Linked DNA regions of Homo sapiens: regions 1 and 2 are each linked to region 3. Evidence: promoter capture Hi-C in human tissues and cell types (Jung and others, 2019). All regions are on one chromosome and are shown on one strand. Each heading gives the region's core, a stretch centred on a gene start or on the middle of the fragment in contact. The rest is flanking DNA. Distances are from core to core; before and after follow the strand shown.

Evidence for each region. The method cuts DNA at HindIII sites, captures the fragments that hold promoters and counts their contacts. A contact is called where the count stands out against the background at its distance.
Region 1: a fragment that was not itself captured here is called in contact with the fragment with the promoter of MKX in region 3 in 1 of the 25 tissues and cell types used here (spleen).
Region 2: a fragment that was not itself captured here is called in contact with the fragment with the promoter of MKX in region 3 in 2 of the 25 tissues and cell types used here (H1 embryonic stem cells and mesenchymal stem cells).

Annotation. Positions count from the first base shown.
Region 1 is chr10:28,066,075-28,069,851 of GRCh38, forward strand. MPP7 (MAGUK p55 scaffold protein 7) reads right to left here. Exons shown (of 17, transcript NM_001318170.2): 13 at 3,698-3,777. Among named protein-coding and RNA genes, the nearest start is that of SNORD130, 5.4 kb to the right of the region's middle. The HindIII fragment of the contact is 3,355 bases long and covers 339-3,693 here.
Region 2 is chr10:28,042,248-28,046,344 of GRCh38, forward strand. No RefSeq gene overlaps it. Among named protein-coding and RNA genes, the nearest start is that of SNORD130, 29 kb to the right of the region's middle. The HindIII fragment of the contact is 5,301 bases long and covers 1-3,941 here.
Region 3 is chr10:27,743,314-27,747,090 of GRCh38, forward strand. MKX (mohawk homeobox) reads right to left here and starts at 2,506. Exons shown (of 7, transcript NM_173576.3): 1 at 2,394-2,506; 2 at 1-184. The coding sequence starts at 102. It overlaps MKX-AS1 (MKX antisense RNA 1), which reads left to right and starts at 1,302. Exons shown (of 2, transcript NR_121652.1): 1 at 1,302-1,635. RefSeq lists an enhancer at 1,997-2,587. The HindIII fragment of the contact is 9,708 bases long and covers 1-3,777 here.

The DNA.
Region 1 (3,777 bases), core at 766-3,265, 320 kb after region 3:
ATTTCCCACAGGCTGGGCATGTTGGCTCACAACTATAATCTCAGCACTTTGGGAGGCTGAGGCAGGAGGATCATCTGAGGCCAGGAGTTTGAGATTAGCCTGGGCAACATAGTGAGACTCCATCTCTACAATCAATCAATCAATAAGAAACTTCCCACAGAGGAGCAAAAGACAGAAAGCAAGGGTTTCAGCCACCACTTTCTTGAAAAGCAACTTTGAATGTTTAATATTATTACATGGATAATTTTTAAACATTTCATATAGCTCATTCAGCCACTTTAGCTCGAGTACCTGATTTAGCATCCATTTAAATAATGTTTTTAAATTAAAGTAATTACAAATTCACAAGTAGTTACAAAAATAGTACAGACAGGTCCCATGTAAAATCACTCAGCTTCCTCTTGAAATATTTACATAACTATAGCACTTTAGGAAAACCAGAAAATCAGCAAACTACAGTTAAACTATTATTTCTTTTTAACATTTAAAGCCTGAGTATTATACAATAACTGATATATATACACATAAAAGTGTTTAACACCCCCATGTAGCCAGCACTCTAACAAGAAGCAGAAAATTGCTAGCACTCCAGAATCACCTCTTGAGTTCCTGTTCTAACCCAAATCCTTGAGATTTCTAACAGCACACATGAATGTTGCCTTTATTGCAATTATAAAAATGAAATCACGCTGCCTCATTCATTCTCTTGTGTCTGCCTCCTTTTGTTCAACACATTTGCGGGATTCATTCTTATTGTTGCATGTAGTTGAAGATTGTTCATTCTCATTGCTTTACAGTATTCCATTGTATGCATATACTATACTTTGTATGCATATACTATACTTTACTTCTCCATTTTACTTATTCATTCAAATGATAAGCATTTGAGTAGTTTCCAGTTCTGAGCTCTTATGAATAATGACTAAGAATAGCTCAGTACGTGTCTTTTGGTGAACGTACTTATGCATTTCCATTGGGTGTGCAGTAGGAGCGGAATTGCTGGGTCAAGGGTATGTGTTTGCTCAGCTTTAGTGGATACTGCTACTTAGTTTTCCAAAATGATTGTGTTAATTTACATTCCCATCAGCAATGTGCAGGAGTTCCTTTGCTCCATAACTTTTTCTGGTGGATATGTAATACATGCTTTCAAAAAGAGAATTATAGAAATAAACATCAAACAATACTGGTGGTATAAGCAAAGCAATCATTTTTCTCCAATATTCAAGATTCTGCCCAAAGTATTTTACAAAGCAAAACTACCTGAAATTCTAAAATTACTCTTAAAATATATTCTTCTTTAATTAATTAAATCACGCTGGTTTGATGCGGTATTTTCCAAACATGCTATAAATACAGATACTTGGGCATATCTTTTTATAGAACTCCATGAGAATCTTATCATCAGGCAAGCCAGTGAAACATTACTATATGAAGACATTTTGACATTGATATCTGTCTAAAAGTAAATCAGAGTGAAAAATAACTACTTTGGGGATTTCTTTGGAGAGTCCCAGTCCCACAACCTTTCTGTAATATTGTCAACTTCTATAACAACTTCAGAGGCAAACATTTAAACAGCTGGGTAAATTGAGGCTAAAGTATGTTTGTTGCCCTAGGTCCTTCCATAATATCACATCTCTCATAGGGAGTTACATGGGATAGATTGGCTTATGGATATTTCTCATCTTCAAAAGAAGTCAGTTTTGACTACTTACTGGAATACAACAAAGATAGTCTGTAGTTTTAAAGGATTGCTAGTGTTAATATAGGAGGAAGAACATGAGAACTGGTATCAAAAAAAACTTGGTTTCGAATCCAAGTGCACCTATCATCTATGGAACTCAAGTCAACATATCCTTTCTATCCCTATCTCCTTCTCTGTGAAATAGAGATAATATCAACCATCTTATACTTGACTGGGAAGGCTACAAAAATTAAGACAAACAAAGGAGATGAATACACAGTAGGAAGTTTAAAAATTCGTTTTTTTTTCTTTGTAATCTGTTTTTGCATCTTCTAGGTCTCTTCTATAATTGCTCACCTGTAAGCTTAAAAATTATTTTGTAAAATTTTCTAATAACTTATATATTGCAATTCAGCTTTTGTAATTGAGGTGAATAATTACAGGCAAAAAAAATGTCTAGTTCCACATTTTCATTAACTTTCATCTCTGTTGGTAGAAAGCAGCAGTCCTATAACTTGTGACTGAAAATGATTACAAGCAATAATTTAGAAAAATGTAAAAAGAAGGAACTTGAGGTCACAGAAAACTATAATTTTAAAATAAAGTTGAACTCTTCCAAAACTAGAGAACATCGCTAAGGGCAATATACAAGTAAATTTTTTAAAACAGTACTAAAACTGCTTGAAAAAAGCCAACATTTCAATTTAGCCTTTTAGACAGCTTTCTATTATCAACATATTAAGTAGTCAAATGGCCTTTATTCTGCAGATCAAAATGTTTCAAGCATCACATTTTATTTGTAAGAATGCCTATGAAAACCACTTTTATAAAAATAAATCTAATTCTGTGTACTGAAAAGAAGCTTACCATATTTAAACTATATAGCCATGAAAAGCCCATTTAACATCATCTGCCAATTACTACATATAAAAAGTAATTAAGAAAGGTTTATATTATAATTAAGTCTCCTTCAGCTCTCTGTGATTTGATTCTTCTAATCTTAAAGCTGGTGAAAAACTCTGGAAAACATTAGCACTTATTTTAGGAAACAGAATTGTTAGACTTTTATTTAGAAGAAAATTTGTAAGTAATAATTTGATGTCATATGTGTACTAAAATTCATCATAAAAACCTAAGAGTAGGGAAGCTGTGATTAACAAATATTCTGCCAAAAATCTGTGTAATTTAGCGCAAATCCTTTAACCATTTTTGCCTTGGTTTCCTCCTCTGTAACATGGGGATAATGTCACTATATACTTCTTGGGGCAGCTGGGAGGTCTAGATGAGTGAGTGCTCAGAACAGTGCTTGATACCATACGTGCTTGGTAAGTACTAAGCAATCATTATTAACGAGTACAAAAAGAAAATAGTTACAAAGAATGAAGAAGATCTATTTGATAGCACAACAGGGTCACTATAGTCAATAACAACTTAATTGTATATTTTAAAATAATGAGTGTAATTGAATTGTTTGTAACTTAAAGGATAAATGCTTGAGGGAATGGATACCACATTCTCCATGATGTGCTTATTTCAGCATTTCATGCCTGTATCAAAACACCTTGGCCAGGTGTGATGGTTCACGCCTGTAATCCCAGCACTTTGGGAGGCCGAGGCAGGTGGATCACAAGGTCAAGAGATCAAGACCATCCTGGCCAACATAGTGAAACCCTGTCTCTACTAAAAGTACAAAAAATAAGCTGGGTGTGGTGGCACGTGCCTGTACTCCCAGCTACTTGGGAGGCTGTGGCAGAAGAATTGCTTGAACCCAAGAGGCAGAGGTTGCAGTGAGCTGAGATTGCGCCACTGCACTCCAGCCTGGCAACAGAGTGAGACTCCATCTCAAAAAAACAAAACAAACAAAAAAAAAACTCACATGCCCCATAAATACATATACCTACCATGTACCCAAAAAATTTTAAAAACAAGTTAAAAATTTTTTAAAATAATTTTTTAAAAATTTAAAATTATCGTAAGTGTAGTCATAGGAACACTGAGTAGCGCAGAACTCACGGGGCACTGTCACGCCATAGTGCTGGGTGTCACTGATCAGCAGCTTTCGTTTCAGTTCATTCAGCCCTACTCCCACGGGA
Region 2 (4,097 bases), core at 41-2,540, 300 kb after region 3:
AGCTCCTAGAGGCCACTTGCATTTCTTGCATGTGACCTCCTCCATCTTCAAAGCCAGCAACAGAGACATCTCCCTAACGTCAACTCTCTCTCATGCTTCCAATGTCTTTCTTTAGGAAAAGCCTGACCTCTTTTAAGGTCTCACCTGATTAGGCCAGGTTAATCTCCCTTTCTTAAGGTGGACAAATTTGGAAACTTAATTGCAGATGTAAAATTTCTTCCTAGCAGTATCTAGATTAGCGCTTGGTTAAAGAACTGGGAGAAGGTGTGTGTACATCACAGGAGGAGGATCCTGGAGGTCATCTCAGAATTTTGCAACCAAGGTAAAGGATAGGTAGTGCTTCAGTTAGACTGTGAGTGTTCTAGCTGGACACATTGGAGGGACAATGGAGCCCTTAGCAAAGCTTGAGAATACAGGAAGTGGAAGAGTTCTGGTGGGAAGGTGAGTTAAAATTTAGATTCGTGAAATACAGAGGTACAGAGAAAAAAAAATATTAATTGAGTAATTTTTGTATATAAGAAGTGCCTCTTGGCAGCCTACTTGGTAAGGGCTGAGCTCCAAAAATATTATTTTCAAGAATATAAAGTTATTGGTGGAAAAAAATAAATTGTTAAAGGGAAGTGATCTTTAGGGATATGGGGCTAAAAGAGGTATACTTTATAAAAAATATTTTGCTCAGCTCAGCTATCTAAAAGTTCTCAGGAATATCGTCGAACTCATAATGGGTTGTAAAATGTGCCTGAAAATTGGGGGTCAGATTTTTATTCCCTAATTCTTAAGAGAACCTAGGCCGGGCACGGTGGCTCATGCCTGTAATAACAGCACTTTGGGAGGCCAAGGGGGGCAGATCACCTGAGGTTGGGAGTCCGAGACCCTCCTGGCCAACATGGAGAAACCCCGTCTCTACTAAAAATACAAAATTAGCCGGGCATGGTGGCACATGCCTGTAATCCCAGCTACTTGGGAGGCTGAGGCAGAAGAATTGCTTGAACCTGGGAGGCGGAGGTTGCAGTGAACTGAGATCGCACCACTGCACTCCAGCCTGGGTGACAGAGCAAGACTCCATCTAAAAAAAAAAAAAGAGAGAGAGAGGCTGACCCCAAGTTTTCATTACAGTTGGTATTTCTACCTCATGGCAGGAAATGGCAGCCAGCTGGATAATGGCCTTGCATATTTCCATCCATTGAAGACCTCAACGTGAAAAGTTACAAGGTGATTTTCCTTCTTCCTCAAACCTACCCATAAGTCTAAAATATCAAGGTCACACAGCAGCAGCAGCACTTCCAGACTACTGAATGGTCTTGCATTGTCTAGTTGAATACATTTCCATGATTCCTCCCATGTTTCCATGAATTATCCAATTCCAGGTATTGCAGGCAGGAGAGAGGAAACCAATATAATGAAACATTTTCTGCATTCATCTTGCAGGCATAGAGACGAAAGGAAGATAAAGTTAAGGGCAAATAATTAGATGCAATCTGACCTGAAGCTAATGGAGATATAAATAGGGTGCTGGGGAGCTCCAAGGACAAAGATGAGGCTCAAAATCCTACCAGAGAATGGATTATAAAATATTTTTTAAAATATCAGGTTTGGGTTGTCTTATCTTGTTTTGTTTTGTAGATGTCTGGAAGCCAAACCTCTACATTGTTTTTCCTTTTCTTTTTTTTTTTCAGAATTTTTATCTCATTTAAAAAAACTTCATTAAGGTAAGTTTTGAGTACAAGAAACTTCAAAATATTTATTTTTAATTTTTCTTGAACTCTAGATCCTCATTTCCAAGTGAATCAGATTTCTTTTTTTATATTTTTGGAAACAAGGTCTTGCTCTGTCACCCAGGCTGGAGGACAGTGGCACAATCACAGCTCACTGCAACCTTGAACTCCTGTGCTCAAGCCATGCTCTTGCCTCAGCCTCTTGCACCATGAGTAAAATTCCCTGAAGCCCTCACCAGAAGCAGATGCTGGCACCATTGAAGATGGTATATACACCAGGTGTATATACACCATTAACAATTGGTTTGTACCTTTCCATACCATTTAATATGTATCTTTACACATGAGAATGTAACATCCTTCCACGATTTTTATGTACATTATAATATATATTATATAATATTAATATATAAATATATAATAATATTAACATATTATATATAACACATTACATATAGTGTACATATTGTGTATAATAATATATAATACATATATTTTTGATACATTACTTATAAGTAATATTATATATTGTATTATAATATATAATATTGTATACCTTTTTGCATTATATACCTTTTGCATTTTATATATATACCTTTTTGCATTAATAATATAATGCAAAAAAACCACCCCATATTTTAAAACAGTGATATAGTAGTCAAAACTATATTATACCAGTTTATTATTCCCTCACTTACAAGAGATTGATTTAAATTTTTCCCACAATAAATTCTACTGCGATTAACATTGCTACACAAATATGAGTGTGCATGGAAGCTGTTTGGTTCAGGGGCATGGCATGAGTATTATAACATTTGATGGAACTGCAAAATTGGCTACCAAAAATTATTTAGCAATTTGAAGCCCATCATTGATTATAATAATAGCTAATATCTACTGAACATTTACCCGATGCCAAACACTGTCCTAAGGGCTTTAGGTAGAGTATTTTAGTGAGCCCTATTGTATCAGTCTTATTATTACTTCTGTTTTATAGATTAGGAAATGAAAGTTCAAGAAGGTTAAGTAGTTTGCATTATGTAATAGCTAGGAAGTGGTATAGCAATGATTTGAACGTAAATCCTTCTTATTTAGTATTGTCCTAAGTTTTCCTGATTCTTTTACTTATTTTGCTTTTATTCATGCCTTCTTCATTCATGAATTTATTTTCAATGCTGAAGTGCATCTTTGAGCCTTTTCTTCCAGGAAGAATATAGGGGTGGTAAAAACATCTGAGCTTATTTACTGTTGCTCCTAATGGTAGTCTGAATGGTTACAGAACTCTAGGCTTAGACTTATTTTCCCCACAGTATATGATATGGGTTTTGTCATCTACTATCCTATTGCAGATGAGATGTTTGAGGCCTAGTAGATTTTGTATTTCTTTATAAGTAACATTTCTCTCTCCTCTCTCTCCTCTCCCCACCTCTATAACTATATACATATATATATGTACATACACACATATATATTAGTTCATTCTCACACTGCTATAAAGAAACACCTGAGACTGGGTAATTTATAAAAGAAAGAGGTTTAATTACTCACAGTTCCACAGGCTATACAGGAGGCATGGCTGGGGAGGCCTCAGGAAACTTACAATCATGGTGGAAGGGGAAGCAGGCACATCTTACATGACTGTAGGTGAGAGAGAGAGTGTGTGTGGAAGTGAAGGAGGAAGAGCCCCTTATAAAGCCATCAGATCTCCTGAGAACTCACTCATGATCACAAGAACAGCATGGGGGAAACTGCCCCCATGATCCAATCACCTCCTACCAGGTCTCTCCCTCAACACCTGGGGATTACAATTCAAGATGAGATTTGGGTGAGGACACAAAGCCTATCCATATCACTCTCTCTCTTTCTGTTTCTCTGAGCTTACAGGATTCTCTATTACTGGAGGTCACAAATTCCAGGAAGAAGTGTCTGGATCTTTTTGCAACACTGTAGTTGGTCAGTGAATGGAGATTTTATTTAAGTCTGAAGATGTTATCTTCAATTTAGGGAAATTTACTGTATTGTTCATTTCATGTCTTTAGCTTAACAGGAAATCCTATTAGGTGGACAGTGGGTCTCTTGGATTTACTATCCATGTCTCAACATATTCTCAATCTTCATCCCTTATCTTTTAAAAATTATGTTCTCAAAGAGTCTATCAGTTTAATCTTTTGATCTAATATTTAGGTCTGTGGTAATTTCCATGATTTTATTCAATCGTATTAGATATTTTCTGAAAATATTTTAACTTTACAGTTATTTTCGTCTTTAGCAGTCTGTTCATAGCAGTAGTATGTCCGAGGATACTAATCTATGCTGTTACATATTAATCATCTTAAAATATTAAAACAGGATGAGCCAGTGAACCTCAAAGGGGAAAAATAG
Region 3 (3,777 bases), core at 1,256-3,755:
CAGGACACCGCTGTAGGGCCGGCCACCCCGCTCCCGCTCCGAGGCGCCTCCGTCCTCAAACAGCACCGCACCGCTGAGCTTGTTGAAGACGATGGTGTTCATGGTGTCGGTTGGTAGGGACGCGCGGCGCGGCCGCAGAGCCTCGGGGCTGGGCCGCCGGGAGCTCCGCAGCGGGGCTCGGCTTCTAGGAGAGGAAGGTGCATCTCGTTACTTACTGGCTGAGAGTGCTCAGACCCCTGCAGGTTCAGGGCCTTGAACTTGGCCGGGTCGCCGGGCTGCGGAGCCGAGGGGAGGAGCGGCGCCGCCGCAACTGGCAGGGACCCTGCGGCTCTCCCCAGTTGGCTACACGCCCCCGCCCCTGCAGGTTCCCCGGACAGGTACCTGCCCTCTTCCTTGCCTGGGCGATCGATCCCCCCAATCCCTTCACTCCCCAGAACTACAACCGGGAATCATTCACCCGCAGAGGCAAAGGAAACGAATTCCCAAACGAGCCTCTGGGTTTCAGTTTGAATCTGGGAGAGGCATACTCCGGACTGCGGAGCGCGACCGGCGTGAGGCCGCGCGTGGTTCTTCAATCACAGCAGAAGACTAAAGCCTCTAGGAACCCCAACTCGGGGCGTCAGGAGGGGTTGGATGGAAGGGAAGATTTGGGGTAATGTGCCAACCGTATCCACAAGACCCCCCAGCTCATGAGTCCCAGGCCATACCGGGATTTGGGGGATTTTCGTGTTTTCTAGATCGTGGATGGTTTGGTTGAAACCCCCGCATCTTCTGTCCGCCAAGGTCCCCCGGGGTGAGGTTGGGTTCAAGGACAGGAAAAAGTTAAGTGGCGTCAGGACGAAAGCACCACTTCTCCCCCTTCTCTCCCAGAATCTTCCTATCATCCCCCAACGCGCCCCGGGAAGTGCATGGTCCTAAGGTCCAAGGCGCCAGGACCCAGGTCCCCAGAGCCCTCAATCAGTGCCATTCTCTTCCGCAGCGCGGGTGTCAGCCGCGAGCTCGTAGCCCCTCGACACCCGCCTCTCTCTGGGGTCTCCGGGGACCCTTTCAGAGGCTGTAAAGGTGTCAGAAGCCCAAGGCAGGAGGCAGCTTGGTCGGCGCACCTCCCGGGCCACTGCTGCCACTGTCGGGGAGAGCCAGCAGCTCACCTCTGGGGTCGCGGAGGCCCTGAGCCTCTGCCTGCCGCGCACCGGCGTCAGGAGCAAGTCCGCGCGGCCGCGGAGCCGCAGAGTTACAGCCCCAAGGCGCGCGGCGGACTTCGCCCGCCCCATCTCCTCGCCTCGCGCCTCGGGACAGCTCCCGTTTCCTCCGAGCGGCCTCAGCTTCGCTGCCAGCGCCCCCTTTGCCCGTCCAGCCGCGGCATGGGCTGCTACTCCACTAACACACGCGCGCGCGCATACACACACACACACACACACACACACACACACACCCTTTGCCTCGCCAAGCGCCCACACTCGCCAACGCCCCCGCCCCGCCCTTCGGCCACCGCAGCAGAGGCCACGCGTGACATTTAGGACCACGCGTGACCACCGCGATCAAACGACGGCTACGGTCTGTGTTCGTAGGGAAGTGAAGTCAGACCTCTGCTGGATGTCGTGTGTCCCCTAGGACTGCGTCCTCCCGCGCAGACAGGTACGTGCCTGGGGTGTGCACATAGCCTCGGTGATAAGTGTCAAAGAGAATTTTCGTGCTTGCAGCCCCTGTTCTACAGTCAAGACTCGCGTTGGTGTTTTCTTTTAAAATCATGCCCTTAGGGATGTGTGTTCATGCTGCTTTATTTGTACAAGACACCCTTCCCCGGCCCGGCCTTCTCCGAGCCACCCCAGCGCGTCCTCCTAGATGCGACGACGTGTTTTTCCTAGCGAAGTCATCACGAGGTTAGCCACCTCGGACACTTCCCCGGCAGCCCCAAGCCCACGCAGAGATCGCAGACACAGACACCCGGCGCGCTGTAGGTCTGCAGGCAGCAGGCTCAGAGGCAAGCGATGGCAAAGGTCCGAGCGCTGTCCTGTCGCAAGGGGTCCGGGGGCGTGTGAACCACACTTGCTGACCCTCCCAGGACTCCCGCGCGCGGCCACCCGCGCCTCTTCTCAAATCACTTACCCCGATTCACTCCAGACTGTGGCCGGGGAGGTCACTCCCTGCAGAAGTGTCCCCCTCCCCCAACGCCGGCGAATAATTTTAAAGCAAAGGAGGCGCGGCCAGGTGGGCTCCCAAGCTCCGCGCAGACCCTTGGGCCAGCCTTGGCCGCTACCCGAGCGCCTCTCCACCAGACCTTGGAGGGAAGTTGGGGGAAGGGCGGGAGAGCACCGGCGCCCAGGGCGCAGGGGCCAGAGCGAGCCTGGCGTTCCGCCGCAGCCGGCTGAGACTCGGCGACGCGGGGGCTGTACCTGTGGCTGCGGGGCCGACGGCCGGCTGCAGGGCGGCTGGCTCTCCCGCCTCGAGACTAGGCGCACTCCCATCCCCGCCGCATGTTCTCCACGCGGGCTCCAGCGCGCTCACCACCGCCACCGCCGTCGTCTCGGCTTTATTTACCCAGCCCGGCGCGCGCCGCCCGGGAACAGGAATAGCGAGGCCTTCTCATGTTTCCTGACTGCCGGTCCCAGCCGGCGAACATCCTGCGGGCGCGGTATCCACGTTCCCGGGCGGGTGGAGAGGAAGCGTCCGCGCCCGCCCGGCCGCGGGGGCTGCTGTTAACCCCTAGCAGAGGAGCCGCTGCCGGGGAGCCCCGGGCCCGCCGAGTCCTCCGGAGCCGGGCGCGGCTCCCAGATCCGCCGGCCTTGCAGTCGTGGAGCAGACGGGGCTTTTCCCTTCGCACTTTAGGAGAGAAATTGGAGAAGCTGCCGGGAGCGCTCGGCTCCGGCTCCAGAAGCTGAGAGGCTGCGGTGCAAATCCCGTGTCTTAGCTGGCCCGATTGCCGGAAATTTCACTGCGCGTGGCTAGGCGGGAGAGGCCACTGTGACGCGCCCTGTATTTTCCTCTCGATTAGCTGGAGGGAAGTTAGAGCTCCGTTTTGCACCTACAGCCCTGGAGCGTATTGCGGGAAGTGCTAGTGCCCAGGAGCCTCTTTTCTGATGTCACTGGGCTTCTGGGGTCCTAGTTGTCTCAGTCAAAGCCAGGCACACATTCACCTCCGGGGCAAGGGCTGGTGAGGCTGCCCTCGCCGCTGGGTATAGGGATGGGGGAAAGCAAGGATGGGATGAGTTCAGCCCAGGTGGCCAACCCGCGGTGGCCCAAGTGCAGAAGAGGAAGCGCGCCCAAAGCCAAGGATCTGCACGCAGCAAAGGAGATGGAACTTAGAAGAATCACAAGCTGGGACACAGGGCAAAGAGAGAGAATGGCTACCAGATTCTCTGATTGATGATACTTTGCTTCCTAACATTACCGCAAATATAAGTAGCGAAAGCGGCGGTTTAGGTGCAACTGCAAGCTCAGAGCTTCTGGCAGCCCAGAAGATCCCCAAGGTGCCAACACGAAGCTGCCTGCGCTCTCGCCGAAGGCCCTGTGGTCCTAGCGAACTTTCGCCCTTTTTAAAGAACAAACTTAGATTTCCCCCCACCAAGCTTAAAGAAATAGCGCCATTTGTCCTTTTCCCCTCTAAATGCGGCTGGCCAGAGCCGGGGCAGTGGCCCACCTTAGCATCTTCTTCGTGTGTGTGTGTGTGTGTGCGCGTGTGTGTGTGTGTGTTTGTGTGTTGGGGGGGTCGCTAGAAGTGCTTAAAATATATACCAAAACTATTATTTTAAAGACTAATCACACCCTCAAATTTCATAT